Regions from separate parts of the Homo sapiens genome. Here region 2 is linked to region 1. Evidence: promoter capture Hi-C in 16 types of primary human blood cells and fetal thymus (Javierre and others, 2016). All regions are on one chromosome and are shown on one strand. Each heading gives the region's core, a stretch centred on a gene start or on the middle of the fragment in contact. The rest is flanking DNA. Distances are from core to core; before and after follow the strand shown.

Evidence for each region. Contacts are between HindIII fragments. The CHiCAGO score rates a contact against its expected background, and 5 or more counts as called.
Region 2: a contact is called between a fragment that was not itself captured here and the fragment with the promoter of SDE2 in region 1, in 1 of 17 cell types (neutrophils). The highest score is 6.4, in neutrophils.

The regions. Positions count from the first base shown.
Region 1 is chr1:225,996,623-226,001,297 of GRCh38, reverse strand. It overlaps SDE2 (spliceosome associated SDE2), which reads left to right and starts at 1,955. Exons shown (of 7, transcript NM_152608.4): 1 at 1,955-2,105. The coding sequence starts at 1,986. RefSeq lists enhancers at 1,071-1,120, 1,201-1,300, 1,321-1,470, 1,991-2,100, 4,114-4,203 and 1 more and a silencer at 1,651-1,930. The HindIII fragment of the contact is 16,010 bases long and covers 1-2,764 here.
Region 2 is chr1:229,500,426-229,505,030 of GRCh38, reverse strand. NUP133 (nucleoporin 133) reads left to right here. Exons shown (of 26, transcript NM_018230.3): 3 at 2,929-3,032; 4 at 4,168-4,275. Among named protein-coding and RNA genes, the nearest start is that of NUP133, 5.6 kb to the left of the region's middle. The HindIII fragment of the contact is 3,736 bases long and covers 558-4,293 here.

The DNA.
Region 1 (4,675 bases), core at 706-3,205:
TCCAGCCCAGGTGGCAGAGCGAGTGTCTCAAAAAAGAAAGAAAGAAAGAAAAAAAAGACTAATCATAATAATTCCTCACAAGACACGAAGCATTATCCCGACACAAAAAATGTTTTGGAAACCCAAACTGACCTTTATACAGTTACTTGTAGGATCTCAGACCTTTGAAATGGTCATTTAAAAAAATTATTTATTTATTTGAAATAGTCATTTTTGATCACCAGAAGGAAGAAATCACAAATAAAAAAAGAAGAGGCTTAAGGCTCAGATCTGTAGATTACTTTTTCAGGAACCTGGAGGACAGAGAGCTGGGGAGCAGACTGCAGAGGGACTTGAGGTTTCTGGAGTTTGGACGGCTTACATGTAACCTGGCGACACCTTCACGCCCCAGGGTTGCCATGGCACCACCTTTCCGAAATACTGCTTCCTAGGTACAATATATCTTTTTTTTCTGAAACGGAGACTCTCTCTGTCGCCCAGGCTGGAGTGCGATGGCACGATCTCAGCTCACTGCAACCTCTGCCTCCCGGGTTCAAGCGATTCTCCTGCCTCAGCCTCCTGAATAGCTGGGATTACAGACGCGCACCACCACGCCCGGCTAATTATTGTATTTTTAGTAGAGATGGGGTTTCACCATGTTGGTGAGGCTGGTTTCGAACTCCTGACCTCGAGATCCGCCCGCCTCAGTCTCCCAAAGTGCTGGATTACAGGCATGAGCCACCGCGCCCGGCCAGTACAATCTATCTTTATTATTTTTTTTTTTGTAATTTTTATTTATCTACTGGCATCCCCATGGAGGCCCTTTCTCTCCCCAACTTTCCCTCGTGTGTGAAATAAAGACCACTGAATCTATTAACTTCCCAGGCCTTGAAATTCCATTTTCGCACATACTGCCACCGCTAAACGATTTCTGAATTTTTTGTTGTTACCCCCTCAGCTAGGAGTTCCATTTGCCAAGCATTTTAACAGCAGAGAAGGCAATTCTGTGGGCCGATGCATTTGTGTTTAGCAGGCACAGATATCTCCAAATAACCTTCCTATCTTCACACTGGTGGCTTTTGAATTGTTCAGGGTTTTAGAAATACCATAATCTCATTCTGTTAAATATTAAGGGACTCTTTCGGATTCCCTGAGCCTTAAGGTTACGTTATGCAAATCTGTCCGAGTGTGTTTCCATGGTGCAGAATAAAAGTTATGGTAGGGTTTTTTGAAGCAGCATGACTATAAACGTCACTCCTGTCACTGCCTTTCACAAGAGCCCACTTGCTGTGAAATATTTTGAAAACAGAGCTGAAGTGGAGATAACGCAGTGCACAAACAGGCGGAAATAAGAATAAACCGTGCGTGGCAGGCAGAAACCCGGAGGTTGGCTGTTTCTGGAGGGGAAGAGAAGGCTCTGTAAAGCTGGAGGAGAAACCACGCCGGCCACTGTTTAGGGGCCTCCTGGGGGTCGTTTCCCTTGCCCCCTCGGGTTGGGGAGCTCCTCTAGGCCAAGGAAGCGGCCCCCTAAAACCGCTTCCGGGACTGCAGCTTCTCTCCCCACACTCTCAAGGAGCAGAGCCTTCTCGGGCCACAATTCTCCGCGACCCAAAAATAACTACACAGATGTGAGGAAAAGGGCCAAAGCCTACAGCACAAGGTGGTTCTCAGTTAAAGCCTTATCGCTTACGGCCAGGAAGCTCGAAACCTAACCCAGCGCCAGCCTTTTATAGCCGGTCCCTCGAGCCCCGCCCTAGCAACTTCTCCTAGCAACGCCTCGCCCCGTGCTCTGCCGCCTTATCTGCCTCCGCCAGGCCTTTCCTGTTCCCCTCCCCCAGCCCGCACCGCCCCGCCGCCCGGCTCACTTGACCCGCCCCAGGGGAGGGGAGGGGTGAACGGAAGCGTGAGGGGCGGGGCGTTGGAAGATGCTCGCGTCATCAAGAGGCGCCGGGCGAGTTGCGGCGCCTGGTGTCTCAGAGAGGCTTGAGGTTCGGGTAGTCGGTGACATGGCGGAGGCCGCGGCGCTGGTGTGGATTCGCGGCCCTGGCTTCGGGTGCAAGGCGGTGCGGTGTGCCTCGGGTCGGTGCACCGTCCGGGATTTTATCCACCGGCACTGCCAAGATCAGGTGAGGATTTCGGTTCCTGTTAGGAAGGAGAAAGAGGCAGACAGGTGGCAGCGCTGGGTGCGGAGTAGGTCTGTCCGGGGCGGGGGTACGTTTATTCTCTGGGGTTTTCACTCGTTGAGGCTGAGAGTTCCTCAGTGTTAAGGTGCTTCGAATTGTTACTGAGACCTTCCTTTGCTTTTCTTTTGTGGTGGTGGTTTTGCCTTCCCACCAAGAGGGAGAAAAAAACTGTTACAGGCACTTAGTCCCGCTCACAGTTACAAATACTTTGTTTCTCTTTCTTTATCCGTAAATATAATGGTCTTCTGGCAGTTGGGCCGGCTGATTTTTAAGGCTCCAGTCTTCACCTTCTTACTATGGTTATGTGACGTGTATTTTGTCCACTCATCACACAGCCTTGTTAGCCCCAGCCTAGAGAAGTATGTCATATCCAAACCCAGGCCAAAGGATGATTGGGAAGGAAAATTGATTCTTCTGGTCAGTCGTTGTGACCAAGCATTCACACGTGTGTCCTGTTGAGGGCCTGGGTTCTTAGGGCCTGTTACGTAGAAGTGTTCACTATTAATTTGATGGTCTCATTTGTCCGTGCATATTTGTGAAAACCTACCAGGGACTTCCAGAGTTACACGTGAGCTTTTACTGAACTTTCAAGTAAGTAAGCTTTTACCAGCTATAAGATATTAAACCTGTTCAGTTGTCAAAAGAATTTAGTGGTTTCCCTGAATCTAATTTTAATGTTGGCACTTGATCTAGAACTCTGTTCTTTCCGCACCTCATCCGTGCTTTCCTCGGCTATTTCCTCTGCTTACTATTTATAAGCTTAACAAATGTTAACACTGCAGTCTAGACCAAAATTTTAAGAGACTTGGATCGATTCCGTGAAGAAGCAATGTGTGTTTGCAAATAATACGGTTTTTCACTTTCCATGTTTTCCTTCCTGCTCTGTAATCCAGTCTAAAAACTGTAAGCACAACTGTTTTTGACCATGAAAATAATTGCATTCTAATTCCTTTGAAAATAATTCTTATTTCATGAGTACAGTGTTCTTTTCTCCCCCTCCCCCACCCCCGACGGAGTTTGACTCCCGTTGCCCGGGCTGGAGTGCAATGGCGTGATCTCGGCCCACTGCAACCTCCGCCTCGCTGAGTTCAAGCGGTTCTCCTGCCTCAGCCTCCCAAATAGCTGGGATTGCAGTCGCCCGCCACCATGCCTGGCTAATTTTTGTATTTTTAGTAGAGACGGGGTTTCACCACGTTGGCCAGGTCTTGAACTCCTGACCTCGGGTGATCCGCCCACCTCAGCCTCACAAAGTGCTGGGATTACAGGCTTGAGCCACTCCTCCCGGCCTATGAGTACAGTTTTCAAACTTGCTGACAATTGATCCAAAGTGAAACCAGAAAAAATAGGATCTTAATCATGAGGTATGTTGGAAAAAAGAATTTTTAAATCGGAAGCAAGAAATATAGGCCAGGCGTGGTGGCTCACGCCTGTAATTCCAACACTTAGGGAGGTCGAGGCGGGCAGATCACCTGAGGTCAGAAGTTCGAGACCAGCTTGGCAACATGGTGAAACCCCATCTCTCCTAAAAATACACAAAAATTAGCCAGGCGTGGCGGCAGACGCCTGTAATCCCAGCTACCCAGGAGGCTGAAGCAGAAGAATCATTTGAACCTGAGAGGTGGAGGTTGCAGTGAGCCGAGATTGAGCCATTGCACTCCAAACTGGGTGACAGAGCAAGACTCGGTCTGAAAAAGTATATATAAAGAAATATAAATGAGTGGATTCAGTCAGAAACTTAAGGAACATGACCATAGCAAATATGAATAGAAACACAAAAGAATATTAGTTGAGATACTGGAACAAGTAAGAATAGCTCAAGTTCACACCTATGTTTTTAAAAACAAAACTATTCTGAGACATGATGAAGTTAGTGTTAACTCCCACTGAGAAAATAAAAATCTGCCCTGCTTTTCATCAGGCTGGGATAACAGACACAGATAAAGCCAGCTGCAAAGTTTTTGTTTTTTGTTTTTGTTTCCCCCACACTACACCGATGTACAGCTGCAGAGTTAACAGGAAATGGTGATGTGTCATAATGTCATAACGACCCCCACGAAGGTCTGCTGCTTTCTTATTCACTGAGAAACCTTGGTCTCAAAAACCATAGAATATATAAGAAATTTTGCTGTTTAAAGTTCTCTCAATAAGAGGGAACCTTCCCACTCTTGCCTTGTAGAGAAGCATTCTTGATTTCCAACCCAGGTCAGAGCTTCCCATTAAGGGTTTCTGGACACAACTTTCCACATTTATCTTAAATTTGTAGTTTCCAAGGAAAGAGGAGCCTTCACAATCCAGATCTGATGTTGACGTTTTTATATACAGTCCTGCTTTATTTTGAACCTTTTTAAACACTGCTTGATGTAAATTTCACCTCAACTCCACCCTAGCCCCAAATCTTGTAATGACACTCCTTTCTTTGGGTTGGTGAGATACCCATGACTCCTGGTGTGCAGTTCCCCTCGTTGCAGTGAATCAGTAAGTTTGACAGGTTTATCTCTGATAGCCTTAGGCTG
Region 2 (4,605 bases), core at 1,176-3,675, 3.5 Mb before region 1:
AAATCTTATCATGTTTTAAGAAAGTTTACAAACTTGTGTTGGACCGCATTCAAAGCTGTCCTGGGCCACACGTGTCCCTGGGCCATGGGTTGGACAAGCTTGGGGTATACAGTATGGATATGCTGCACAAAGGGTTGATTCACAACCTTTAGGCAGGACAGTATGAGATTTTATCACTTTACCCAGAACAGCATGCAATTTACAACTTAGGAATTGTTCATTTGAATTTTCCATTTAATATTTTCAGACTACGATTGACCACAGGTATTTGAAACTGCAGATAAAAGGGGGAAATACTGTATATGCAAAATTCAGTCCTGTTTACAGAGTTGATCAGGTTTATGAAGTTTCCCGTGAAACCCCAAAACTGGCACCTCATGTTATTGGGTTTAATAATACAGTAAAATCAAGTCCTACCTCCATTTCTGGATCCTATGTAGCATCCCAGAGGCTGTGTGCACAAATTTATGACGTTACCATTGTCGTGGTGTACCTTTAGAAGCGTCTGTTGGTGGAGAATTAGTGTGGAATTTTGACAGATACAATCAACACAAGCTTAGAAAGGCAACTTTAAAGATGAGCAGTTGGATGACACTGGAAGAGCAAAGTTCAGAGCAGCCTTAATATCTGCTGAAGTCATTTTTATTAAGGCTTGAATTCTAGATCTTTGTGATTTTTCTGGAACAGTATTTTTCAAATTGTAGGGGTGACCAAAATTTAGCGGTTCTTGACCAGCATTTAAAAAAAGAAGAAATAGAATGCATCTCATATGTTTAGTAAATTTTGTTCGTTTTACTTAAATTGTATATGGGTGTATCGTGATGTAAAATGTATTATACTGTGAATAACTCTATTTACTGTATAACTTAATAACAGTAAAAAAAAAATGCTGAAATTACTCTGTTTTAGAAGAAGGAATATATCTCATCAACTGGAACTTGGCACATCTTGCCTGTAGGTCCTTGGGAGCTTTAGGGATAGTTGTTTTCAGACAACTACTAACCTTTCTATACATTGTTCTGTTTTAAATAAATAAATGTATATATATATATTGGTATATATGTGTATATTTTTCCCCTCTAAAAATTTCAGTTTACATTTAAACCTTTTAATGTACTACTCATATTTTAACAGACTAGATTAAATAACACAGCCCCAAATCTAGAAATTCAGAGAGTCCTTAGAAATTAGGATATATAAAACAAAGAGGTGTGTCAACTTGAAGAACTCTTCCCCACTTAGAAACCTGCCAACTACTGTTAAGTCAGCCCTTAAAGGCACACCGGTCGAGGATCTGGAGTTGTAGTGCTTTCAAGAAAAAGAAAATTACTGAGCAGATAGTTCAGTTGAGCAAAAAGCCTCACTCAGCCTGGGCTTGGTTTGATATTTTTGCTTGTACATTGTCTATGCCTTTTACTTCACCCTTCTACCTTTCTGTAAGTAAAGAGCAAAGCTCAACTTAATAAAATTTCCAGGGCTGTTAACACATTTGTGGAGGTTTACCACCAATACTTAAGATATGTGCTAATTTAGTTTTGTCACTTAATAGAGAACGTAACTCTTTGTCTCCATGTACTAAATAATTTATCATTCCTTTAAGGAGCTCTTATTTGAAAATTATGTGCTTTTGGTCCTCCAAAAGCACATTGTTTTCCTTGAAATGTTTTATATAGTTAATGAGTTTGTTATTTGTTTTACTTTATCGATATAATTATAAATGTTGCTAAATATTTCTTTTTTGTTTGTTTGTTTTGAGACAGAGTCTTGCTCTGTTGCCCAGGCTGGAGTGCAGTGGCGCGATCTCAGCTCAATGCAACCTCTGCCTCCCAGGTTCAAGTAATTCTCCTGCCTCAGCCTCCCGAGTAGCTAGGATTACAGGTGCACGCCACCATGCCCCCATGCCTGGCTAATTTTTTTTTCTATTTTTGGTAGAGATGGGGTTTCATCATGTTGGCCAGGCTGGTCTCGAACTCCTGACCTCATGATCCACCCACCTCGGCCTCCCAAAGTGCTGGGATTACAGGCGTGAGCCACCCTGCCTGGCCTCTCTTTTGTTGTTTCTGCTTACTTATTTTTTGATATGGAGTCTTGCTCTCTTGACCAGGTGGGAGTGATGTGATCATGGTTTACTGCAGCTTCAATCTCCTGGGCTCAAGTGGTTCTCCTGTGCCTCAGTCACCCTAGTAGCTGGGAAGTGCACTGCCAAGCCTGGCTATTTTTTTTTTTTTTTTTTAAGAGAGAGAGTCTCACTATGTTGCCCAGGCTGGCCTCAAGCAGTCCTCCCAGGGTGGCCTCCCAAAATATTGGGATTTATAAGCATGAGCCACTGTGCCTGGCCTAAATATGTCTTATAGGAAATAAGCTATCTGGTCTGTTTGTAACAAAAAATTAAGGAATATTAAATGTCCCAAATACACTTTTTGCCTTTAGATATATTTCTTTTTTCTTTCTTTTTTTTTTTTTTTTTTTTTTGAGATGGAGTCTGGCTCTGTTGCCCATGCTGGAGTGCAGTGGCACGATCTCGGCTCACTGGAACCTCCACCTCCCAGGTTCAAGCGATTCTCTTGCCTCAGCCTCCCAAGTAGCTGGGACTACAGGCACGTGCCACCACACTCAGCTAATTTTTTGTAGTTTTAGTAGAGTTGGAGTTTCACCATGTTAGCCAGGATGGTCTCGATCTCCTGACCTCGTGATCCTCCCACCTCGGCCTCCCAAAGTGCTGGGATTACAGGCGTTAGATATATTTCTAAAGTTGGTTATCAGAGTTAATAGATCTATTGTTTTTGGTGTTGATAATTTTGGAATATTCAAAAGTATTTGTTGTGAGGTAGTCGTTTCTGAGTGTGCCAATTACTTTTTTTTGATAAAGCGTGTGGTAATAAAGATTTATACTATAAGATTAATCACCCACCTCATTTTTTCCTTTAGTCGATGACCAGCTGACCATTAACATAGATGAAGGTGGATGGGCTTGTCTGGTGTGCAAAGAGAAGCTCATTATTTGGAAGATTGCTCTGTCACCTATTACTAAGGTAATGGCTCTTTAGAGAGCTGGAACAAGATAGAGGAGAGGAATGCCAATTGACTTTTCATTTTTACCCTAATTTTTTTACAGTTGGAGGATAGTCAATAGGAAACTACTTAGGCATTAAGAGTTTGCATTTTCATAGTGATGTGAAATAATGAGCATGCATACACATTTGTGTATTGGGAAAAAAGTTTCCCCCTTTTGAAGATCTGTGTTGTTTACATTTAATAAAATTAGAGTCATTGATATTTCCAATGAATATAATGCTAATCCGTCTGCCTAATGAAGTATCAGACTAAATGCTATCCACATAAGCAAATGAACTTTGAGTTTGCGTATTTCTGAGAAGACAGAACTATGTTTTGTTGAACCTACTGAATGATGCTTAATAAAATAAGAAAATATGATACCAGTTGCTAGTTAAACTTTTCACTTGTCCACTTCCAACAGTGGGTTATCATTTGCATGTCTAGTAACGTATCCTCAGCAACCTTTTTCTGTTTGTTACAGCTTAGATACACTACTCTCTTCTACCAGTCATTACTTCCTTGGCCATGTTCCGTTGGAACTCAGGGCTCCTGCTTACCTCAATTCTTCACTTCTGCTGAACTCTGTGTTACTGCTGCCTAGAAAAGGGTGTATGTGGTTAGGAGTAATAGGTGAGGGTGAATTCCTGGGGGACATACTGAGTTAGCTGCGGGATCCTGATATTTGGCTGAGAGTCTAAGAAATTGTTTCCTAGGTAACTTGGTATAATTACTCTTTGGTCATGCTAATTTTAAATGTCAGATGAACAAATCAAGAGTAAATTGGGAAAGTTCCATAGGAAGCCTAAGCACTCATCTTAACCTTACTTAGTCTTCTCTTAACTGGACTTTTCTAGCCCAGGAAGAGGTTAGGATAGTTGTTCTTCAGAGTTTGGTCTACCTTTAAGTTTTCATGATTCAATACTCTTAAGATACTTTGTTTTAAAATTACTGAAAGCCTGATTAAAAGGAGATGTGAGAAGAAAGAATATTTGTAGAATGGTGTTTCCAGCAGTGAGTCAGAATCTAAAATATGCAGAGAAGGGAAATCAGATGCATCTTCAAAATACTGGATTTGATGTGAAAGATTTTCTGTTTGGGTTTGTTCTACAGTTATCCGTTTGCAAAGAACTTCAGCTGCCACCTAGTGATTTCCACTGGAGTGCCGACTTAGTGGCTCTTTCTTACTCTTCTCCCTCAGGTGAAGCACATTCTACTCAGGTAGGTGACTTAAAAGCTTATTTAAATAAACTTTTTACAACAAGGACATCCTAAAGTTAGAGGAATCATCCTCTTTGATTTTGAGATATAACTATAAACCTATAGAAATCAAGATATTGTGGTATTGGCAAAGAGAGCTACACACATAGGTCAGTGTAACAGAATAGAGAATACAGTTATAGATCCACATAAAGGCACCCATTTGGTCTTTGATGAAGGTGCAAAAGCAATTCAGAAAGGATGGTTTTTGACGATGATTTTTCTCTGTATCAATGCATAGTGTAGGAACATTTGTAATTTTAAAATTACAAATGACCAATTTGTATTGTA